Linked DNA regions of Homo sapiens: region 1 is linked to region 2. Evidence: promoter capture Hi-C in human tissues and cell types (Jung and others, 2019). All regions are on one chromosome and are shown on one strand. The core of a region is centred on a gene start or on the middle of the fragment in contact, and the rest is flanking DNA. Distances in the headings are between cores, read along the strand shown.

Evidence for each region. Contacts are between HindIII fragments. The study calls those that stand out against the background at their distance.
Region 1: a fragment that was not itself captured here is called in contact with the fragment with the promoter of CDC27 in region 2 in 2 of the 25 tissues and cell types used here (dorsolateral prefrontal cortex and hippocampus).

Annotation. Positions count from the first base shown.
Region 1 is chr17:47,076,026-47,080,707 of GRCh38, forward strand. All of the region lies in intron 1 of LOC101927060 (a long non-coding RNA gene), which reads right to left. It overlaps LOC124904015 (a long non-coding RNA gene), which reads left to right. Exons shown (of 2, transcript XR_007065824.1): 2 at 1-252. Among named protein-coding and RNA genes, the nearest start is that of RPRML, 99 kb to the left of the region's middle. The HindIII fragment of the contact is 6,830 bases long and covers 1-4,682 here.
Region 2 is chr17:47,187,431-47,192,409 of GRCh38, forward strand. It overlaps CDC27 (cell division cycle 27), which reads right to left and starts at 1,865. Exons shown (of 19, transcript NM_001256.6): 1 at 1,716-1,865. The coding sequence starts at 1,742. It also overlaps a transcript of MYL4 not described here. RefSeq lists a silencer at 1,390-1,439 and enhancers at 1,473-2,069, 1,600-1,789. The HindIII fragment of the contact is 11,296 bases long and covers 1-4,979 here.

The sequences.
Region 1 (4,682 bases), core at 2,001-4,500, 110 kb before region 2:
CCCTAGAGCCTCCAGAGAGAGCATGGCCCTGTTAACACCATTATTTCAGACTTCTGGCCTCCAGAATGGTGGGAGAACACATTTCTGATTTTTTAAGCCATCTTCTTTAAGTAAAAGATTATCTATGATGTTGTATTTTACAGACCAAGAAACTGAAGCTCAGAAATGTTGAGTGACTTTTCTTGTCAAGGTTCATGTTAAATAGCTGTGACATGTAAGCATCTGGTAGTAAAGCCATGACTAGAAGCAAAACTTTACCAAGTCCAAGTATGGTGCTTAATACAATTCGCTTTGAATGATGAAACTCTTGGACAATCAGCATACATTCATGTGCCAAATAACATTATGGTCAATGACAGACCACATAAACAATGATGGTCTTATAAGATTGTAATACAGCTGAAGAATTCCTATCTTAGCACAAAGCACTACTCATGTGTTTGTGGTGATGCTGGTGTAAAGAAACCTACAGTGCTCCTATTCATATAGAAGTATACCACATACAATTATGTCCAGTAAGAATATAATAGTTGATAATAAGAACTATGTTACTTTTTTTTTTTTTTTTTGAGACGGAGTCTCACTCTGTTGCCCAGGCTGGAGTGCAGTGGCGCAATCTCGGCTCACTGCAAGCTCCACCTCCTGGGTTCACACCATTCTCCTGCCTCAGCCTCCCGAGTAGCTGGGACTACAGGTGCCTGCCACCACACCCAGCTAATATTTATATTTTTAGTAGAGACGGGGTTTCACAGTGTTAGCCAGGATGGTCTCGATCTCCTGACCTCATGATCCGCCCGCCTCGGCCTCCCAAAATGCTGGGATTACAGGCGTGAGCCATTGTGCCTGGCCAAGAACTGTTAACTGTTAAAAAAAAAAAAACTTATTTTTTATGATAAGAAGAAGTGTTATGTATTTACTGTACTGTACTTTTAATCGTTATTTTAGAGTGTACTTCTACTCAATTAAAAAACAGTTAACTGTCGGGCCGGGCGTGGTGGCTCACGCCTGTAATCCCAGCACTTTCGGAGGCCTAGGCGGGTGGATCACGAGGTCAGGAGATTGAGACCATCCTGGCTAACATGGTGAAACCCTCTCTCTACTAAAAAAATACAAAAACAATTAGCTGGGTGTGGTGGTGGGCACCTGTAGTCCCAGCTACTCAGGAGGCTGAGGCAGGAGAATGGCGTGAACCCGGGAGGCGGAGCTTGTAGTGAGCCAAGATCATGCCACTGCACTCCAGCCTGGGCAACACAGTGAGACTCCATCTCAAACAAAACAAAACAAAAAAAACCCAGTGAACTGTGAAACAGCCTCCAACAGGTCCTTCTGTTGGCACTGTCACAGGCGATGAAAGCTCCGTGTGTGTTGTTGCCCCTGAAGACCTAAGAGTGGAACAAGATGTGAAGGTGGAGGACAGTAATTCCGACAAATCTGACACTGTGTGGGCCTACGTTCATGTGTGTGTTTGTGTCTTAGTTTTTAGCAAAACAGTTTAGGTAGAAAAAAGCTTGTAGGATAAGGTGTGAAGAAAATATTTTTGTACAATTACAATGTGGTTGTGTTTTAGGCTAAGTGTTATTACAAAAGAGTCAAAAAGTTTTAAAATTTTAAAAGTTAATAAAGCAAAAAGTTACAGTAAGCTAAGGCTAATTTATTATTGAAAAAATCTTTAAAATAAATGTAGTGTAGCCTCGGTGTTCAGTGTTTATGAAGTTTATAGTAGTGTACAGTCATGTCCTAGGCCTTTCACATTCAGCCACCCTTCACCCGCTGACTCACCCAGAGCAACTTCCAGTCCTGCAAGCTCCATTCATGGTAAGTGCCCTATACAGGTGTACCATTTTTATCTTTTCTACTATATTTTTACTGTATTTTTTCTATGTTTAGATATGTTTAAATACATAAATCTTTACCACTAGTTGCCTATACCATTCAGTATAGTAGCATGATGTACTTGTTTATAGCCTAGGAGCAATAGGCTATACCATGTTCTCTAAGTGTATAGTAGGCCATACCACCTCAGCTTATATGTATGTAAATATGTATGTATTTGAGACAGTCTCGCTCTGCCCTTGCCCAGGCTGGAGTACAGTGTCACGATCTTGGCTGACTGCAGCCTCCATCTCCCGGGTTCAAGTGATTCTCCTGTCTCAGCCTACCAAGTAGGTGGGGTTATAGGCACTCGCCACCACACCTGGCTAATTTTTTTTTGTATTTTTAGTAGAGATGGGGTTTCACCATGTTGGCCAGGCTAGTCTCGAACTCCTGGCCTCAGGTGATTCACCCACCTTGCCCTCCCATGCCTCGGCCTCCCAAAGTGCTGAGATTATAGGCGTGTGCCACCACGCCCAACCCTCAGCTTGTATTTAAGTACACTCTATGACATTCACACACCAATGAAATCACCTAACAACACATTTATCGGTTTCCCTTTCGTTAAGCAATGTGTGACGGTATACACAAAACTCCAGATTATTTTCCAGATATTTAGAAATACTTTTCAGATATTTTGAAAGTTTCTGAAAACTGCTCTGTCATTACTTCTGAGTGATGAGCTGAAGAATAAAGCATGAACCAAATGAGGTATCTTCTTATACACAGCTAGTGAGACTATAAACTGACACGACCAAAATACTTCTCTAAAGTATGCATTAAGAACATAAAAGAGCATTCATACCTTTGACTAAGATAAAGATGTTTATCATGGCATACTTAATTTTAATAATAAACGTAACTTAAATAGTCAACGAGGAAAGCCAATAGCAGGCAGCCATTAAAAATGTTTTCCAAAAACCAACTGGGAAATATTCAGGGCACATATATAACATGACTGTGTTTAAACAAATTATTCATGTGCTAGGAAAATGTACCATAATGTGGGTAGCGAGATAATTTTGAGCTGTTGGTTTTGTTTTGTTTTGTTTTGGGGGGGCGGGGGGAGGGTGTGTCTTTTATACTTCTGTGTAATTTCAAAGTTTCCTGAGAATTGATACACAGTATTTCTTCAGTTCTAAGAGGTACTTTCCCCACGTCAACAACTTTTAAAACAAGATGCATCTTACAATTGCTGTTATGCCCTAGTTTAATGGAAATAATTTCTTTGTTGTACTTAAAATAATGGTACATCTTACAATCAATAGCATCTTAAGTTCTATGAAGTGTGGCAGTTTTATAACAGGCAACTAAAATAACATAACATATACACATATATAAACTTACATATATATATTTATGAATGTATATAAAAAGATGAAGCAACACTTATGACTACTATTGTACTAATCTCAGTTGTTACTAAGAGACTCTAGTTCTCAAATATAGAAATTCCCACTTAACTACTGGCTATAAAAACCTAGAAACAGACACCGAAGAGGTGTCTCTGATAGAGAAAGACTGTGTTTTTCTCCTCAGTACAGGCATATCCAGTCACCTCCTAGTTATTCTTAGTCACCAATCCAGTTCAAGTTCTACAAATCTCACTTTAAAATTTCCTTTGTGAAGAGTTGAGAAAGCAAAATATTGACCAAATCTAGAATGTTTATTAGTTTTGTTCTAGCTAATTTTTAAATAAGTAAATCAGGATTTAGCTAATTTTTAAATAAGTAAATCAGGATTTAATTTTTACACTACCCTAAGGGAATAAATTAATAATAAAAACTGTGTCCTCAATTAAAGTAGCTCTATCAAATGTTTGGAAAATATATATATATATATATATATATATATATATATATATATATATATATATATATATATGTATCTCCAATCTGGAAAGAAGGTAGAAGTCTCCAGTGAAATTTTTGGAATAAAAGTTTAAATGATTAGACAGCCCACAGAACTTTCACTTCAAACCCTGATCATTCTGTTCATTTTATCAGTTGATCAACCGTTAACTTTTGGCCTACTAATTTAACGGATACTGTTCACAGGAAAGCCATTTTCTTAAGGCTTTGACTAGTACTAAGGTCAAAAAGGCATTTTGACCCTTATTTTTAGTAGCCACAGACTTTTTCTAGACATGGGTCTAGATAAAGATAGAGCTCAGCCATACCAAGCTAATATAAAAAATACTTTGCAAGAATGTAAGCTTCATGAAGGTAGGATTTTTGTTCACTATTGTGACCCTACTATGGAGAACGCTGCTGAGACATAGTAGGCACTTTTCCATAAATCTAACAAATATGACAGTTACATCAATGGCTTGCTTGCATTATACAGCATTTTTCTTGTTTCCTGTTAACTCAGATACCCACACTGTTTTGTTCTAAATACACGTTCAATTAACCATTATATTCTAATAGTGTTTTCCTTTTAATGAGACAAGGTCTTAGTTGCCCAGGCTGGAGTGTGGTGGCACAATCTTGGCTCACTGCAACCTCCACTTCATGGGCTCAAGTGATCCTCCCACTTCAGCCTCCTCAGTAGCTGGGACTACAGGCACGTGCCATCATGCTCAGCTAATTTTTGTATTTTTTGTAAACACAAGGTCTCACTATGTTGCCCAGGCTGGTCTCGAACTCCTGAGCTCAAATGATCCTCCTGCCTTGGCCTCCCAAAGTGCTGGGATTACCAGAGTGAGCCACCACGTGTGATCCCATCAGGTTCTTAAACAAATTAAACCACTATATCAGGTCATTAAACCACTTGTCTTGAAATAGTTAAAAAGGGGGTTATGGGGAGGG
Region 2 (4,979 bases), core at 615-3,114:
GCTGGGATTACAGGCGCCCACCACCACGCCTGGCTAATTTTTTATATTTTTAGTAGAGACAGGGTTTCACTGTGTTGGCCAGGCAGGTCTCGAACTCCTGACCTCAGGTGATCCACCCGCCTCAGCCTCCCAAAGTGCTGGGATTTCAGGTGTAAGCCACCACGCCCGGCCTTCCATGCTTTTATAAAGTCTGAAATTATTATTAAATGGTGGTTATAGTCTATCAATGCAACTAGTTTATCACTTTAGAAGACTTCTGGGGCCAGAGAAGGCAAAAAAAAAAAAATCATTAACTATTAAAACAAAATTATAAGAATATGCAACAGAAATTAAATAACTTGAGTAATCTGCTTATCTATTTAAGTTCATGTTAGGCCTTAAAAAATTATATATATATAATTACCTCATCTACAGCCAGAATAAAAAAAAATCTTAAAAGAAACTATACTGGTAAAAAGAATTTGGATGGAAATAGCTCTAGAAAAACTAATACAACTTACAGACAGGTAAATTTCATAAGATATAATCTTACGTTTTATTAATTCAAACACTAATAGCTGCTATATGTAAACAGCTGGAGAAAAAAACCAAACTAGAAGAAATGAGTATTTCATGCTGTTTAGAAAAATGAAATAAATATGAAAGTAGTGATATATTAAAATATTTACTGTTTGATACCTCAAGCCTTTTAAGGGCAATATGAAGGAATTTCTAAAAATCAGTTTGCTTTATAACTTCAAAATAAAGTCCATGACTCAATGACAGCAGTTGATAGAGGTCAATTCTGATCAAGTTAAAGATCATATAGTGGGATGAAGTCTCCCAGACCTGGTCCATTACCAAGGCACAAAAGATACAGTTTCTCCAGATGTCAGGGGGGAAAATGACTTGGCACCGCATCACACACTTAAAATCCAATAGGGTTCCTTTAATGCAACACAGCACTGTGCGTCAAAGCATACCCTGGTGTAAAGGCAGTGAAATGGACAGAAACACCATTATTTGTGTTTCATTTCCTGAATGCCTTATAAACATGCACAACAAAATGCTCCTGATCCCCATCAGAGAGGATGAAAACAACCCAAATGTGCCCTTTCCACCTCCTCCCCTGGTATTGGTGCTTGCGCCTCAGCACTGAGGCTTGGAGTTGTCTTCTCAAACCATCATTGTCCGGTGGGAAATTCACCGAGAAAGGAAACGTGGGATAGGAAGTCTGTTACCAAAATAGAAATTAGTATTAAAAAGACCGATCCTACGCTCCCTCCACCCTCTCATACAAGACAAAATAAAAAAAACCTCCGTAAACTTGCCCTACCGTCACGAAGATCACACAAGCTCCGATCAAATGTGCTTCTCGATCATCTTTTAGGCAAGAGAGCGCTTGGGGTGCATTTTCGGCCCCTCATCTCCCACCCCCAGTCAAGCCAGGCCCCTGGACTGACAGGAAAGGCTGGCCGGACGTTGGCTCGGACGGGAAAGGCGGTTATTTTCGCCGAAGCCGCTCACGCTAAGGGTGAAGTAATGTAGGGCCAGAGGTAACACGGCTTAGGCTGTGGGCAAGGCCTCCGAACTGACTAAAGATAGGCAGGACACGGCAGCAGGGGAGGCGGGAGAAGCAGCCGGGCCTAGGCCGCACCAGGCCGCGGAGTGGCCCTACGCTGCTGCTTCCCGACCGAGGCTGCCAGCCAAGCCCCAGAGAAGAAGGTTATCATTACCTGGACGGGTTCCTGCAGCACCGTCATCCTCGAGGCTCAGGCCCACTTTCTGCAGTGCCTCAGGCCCCCCCTGTAGCGGCTCCGGCCCGGCCAGCCCCTGCTCATTTAAACTCACCAGCGACCGTTACCGGGGGATGGGGGAGGCCGAGCGATTGCCGAGTGCTTCCGAGCGGGACACGGGAATACCCGAAGTGGAGAAAGCCGAGCGGGAACCAGACGGAAAAGCCCGAAGGGAGTCGGAAATACCCGAGGTTGGTCGACGAGAGAGAAAACCGTTGCCGGAAATTGTCGAAGATTACCGGAAGCTACCGAGTCTGACCCAAAGCGTAGGTTTCTCTTCTCAGCCACGCCTTCAGCCACGCACACCACGCCCAATCGGCCGTCCCAGGGTTGGGCTACGCCAAATCTGCAACCAGCAGGCTGGGCGTGGCGTGACAGCGCGGGCGGGTAGCGTTACGTGGCGGGGCTGCAGTGTGGATTAGCCCCTCAGCCCTTTTGGATTAATTGGTGTGCTGTAGATTATGAAGCAAAGGGTGAAACAGCAGAGTTTGGGGCTGTCTTTAATGAATCAACAAGTATTTGTCTATTGAGTTTAGATCATTCGTCCATTCCAGAAGTATCTACTCACGGCTCTGGGGGAAAGCTAAAGAAATTTGGAAAGATTGCCACTCCCCAAAGACATAGGATAGCTTCTGTCTTCAAGGAGATTAAGGTCTATTTAAGGGAAAAGCAGTGTAACAGAGAACGCTATATTATATGGTGCCTATTATAAGTAATATAAAAATTCAGAGAGGGCAATTGTGATAAGATAAGGAAAGTTCTATGGAAGGAAAAAAAAGTTTAAAATGGAGTTTGAAGGATGGGTAAAATTAGAGGAAAAAGAAGTATAGGAAAGTGAAGGGAGGAAAAATGGGATCAGTCTGCTAAGAAGGCATTAATTGGAAATAGTTACTTAGGTGAAGAGATCATGGAAAAGCTCAATAGGCCATTAGAAATTTTTATTTTTGATAGGTGAGGCATTCCGCTGTGGTGGGAAGAGTAGGGGGTCGGAAATTCAGAGGCCTGGTTTTGAATTTTATCTTTAGCACTAACTAGTCATAGGTCCTTGGCAAATTACCTCTCTGAACTTATGTTCGCTTAGTTTGAAAAAAAAGGATTAAGAGAATTCGATGTATTATAAATGTGGCCGTGTCTAGCATGCAATGTAGACTCTCTCATATTTCCTTTCTGCTCCCCTTCTCCCCCCAAAAAGAGTGAACCAGGGGACTGTTTAAATTTTGTTTTTCAGCAGATGAGGAAACAGTTTTTGAAAGTTACTTTTCTAGTCAGGAGCTCTCTAGGCTAGATGTGAGAATCATGATATATTCCATTGCTTGGAAATTTCCCTTTGGGTGATGTTAGAGGGAGATATTTTTTCTTTCATTTTTAAAAACAAGGCTGACAGAGCTACACTGCATCCTTCTCCACCGCCTTGTCTTGTCACTGTATATATACTTATAGCCCCTAAAGGGCAGGTGCTAAGATGATTTTTGGCTGCCCTGTGCCCAGTTGCTTTAGCGGGATTATGCTGGATGACTTGAGTGGTAACAGACTTTTACACTGGCCTGGAAAGTAGCCATTAGCTATTTAAAGTTTAAGTTAAAATGAAATTAAAAATGAAGTTCTTCAGATGCCCTAGCCACATTCCAAGGATTCAGTAGCCCTGTATGTGGCTAGTGACTGCCATATTGGACAGTCACACAGATATAGAAGAACATCACCAGCACTGGCTTGGCTAGGGCTGAAAGATTCAAGATGGCTTCACTCACATGTCTAGGGTGTCAGTGGTAGCTATTGGCTGGGTCCTTCATTTCTTCTCTGCATGACCTCTCTTTTCACACTGGCCTCTTATGAGTCAGTAGTTTAGCTCCAGCTTCTTGACTTGGTGGTTGACAACAAAGTGCGCAAAAATAGAAGCTGTGAGGTCCCTTAGGCCTAGGCCTGTGAGCATCACTTCTTGTTGGTCAGAGTAAGACTCAGAGCCACCCTGGATTCACCAGGAGGAATAGTCTACTTCTTAATGGGAAGAGTGGCAAAGTAACACCACAAAGGGCGTGTGCCATGGGAGGAGTTTTTGGGTCATCTTTGGAAACAATCTACCACGCTAGATATGAGATGAGAGTATCTAAGATTGGGAATGGAAAGAAAGGGATAAGTAAGAGCTATCACTCTTAAAATGTGACCCTTTCAACTGAACACAGTACTCCAGATTTATTCTGAATAATTCAGAATGCAGTTGGACTATTATTATCTGGACACGTCTATTAAAGTGGACTACAGTTGTATTTACATTTTTTTTTTCCGAGACTGAGTCTTGCTCTGTTGCCCAGAGCTGGAGTGTAATGGCGCAATCTCGGCTGACTGCGTCCTCCGCCTCCGGGGTTCAAGCAATTCTCCTGTCTCAACGTCCCGAGTAGCTGGGATTGCAGGTGCGCACCACCACGCCCGGTTAATTTTTGTATTTTTAGTAGAGACGGGGTTTCACCATGTTGGCCAGGCTGGTCTCAAACTCCTGATCTCATGATCCACCCATCTCGGCCTCCCAAAGTGCTGGGATTACAGGTGTGAGCCACTGTGCCCAGCCTGTATTTACATTTTTTAGCAGTCACATGACACTGTTTGCTCATGCTAAACTTGTGTGGTCATTTACGGACTCAGCTCTTTTTCACACAACATGCTGCCAACCCAAGTCTTGTATGTGTGCAGCAGAGTTTTGTAAACCTAAATATAGGACCTTACCACAGAGGATACATAAAGATGATACTTTGTGAAAATATGGATCTAGAGTCAGCATTTAAAGAGCCTCTGATGCTTGGCACTCTGGCTTATAGGCTTAGAATTTGCCTAAAGCCTTTTTTCTTTTTTTAACCTAAAAAAGAGCATTTCCTGGCTGGGTGAGGTGGCTCACGCCTGTAATCCCAACACTTTGGGAGGCCAATGCAGACGGATCACCTGAGGTCAGGCGTTCCAGACCAGCCTGACCAACATGGAGAAAACCTGTCTCTACTAAAAATACCAAATTAGCTGGGCGTGGTGGCACATGCCTGTAATCCCAGCTACTTGGGAGGCTGAGGCAGGAGAATCGCTTGAACCTGGGAGGTGGAGGTTGCGGTGAGCTGAGATTGCGCCATTGTTCTCCAGCCTGGGCAACAAGAGCAAAACTCCGTCTCAAAAAAAAAAAAAGGCCAGGCGCGTTGGCTCACGCCTGTAATCCCAGCACTTTAG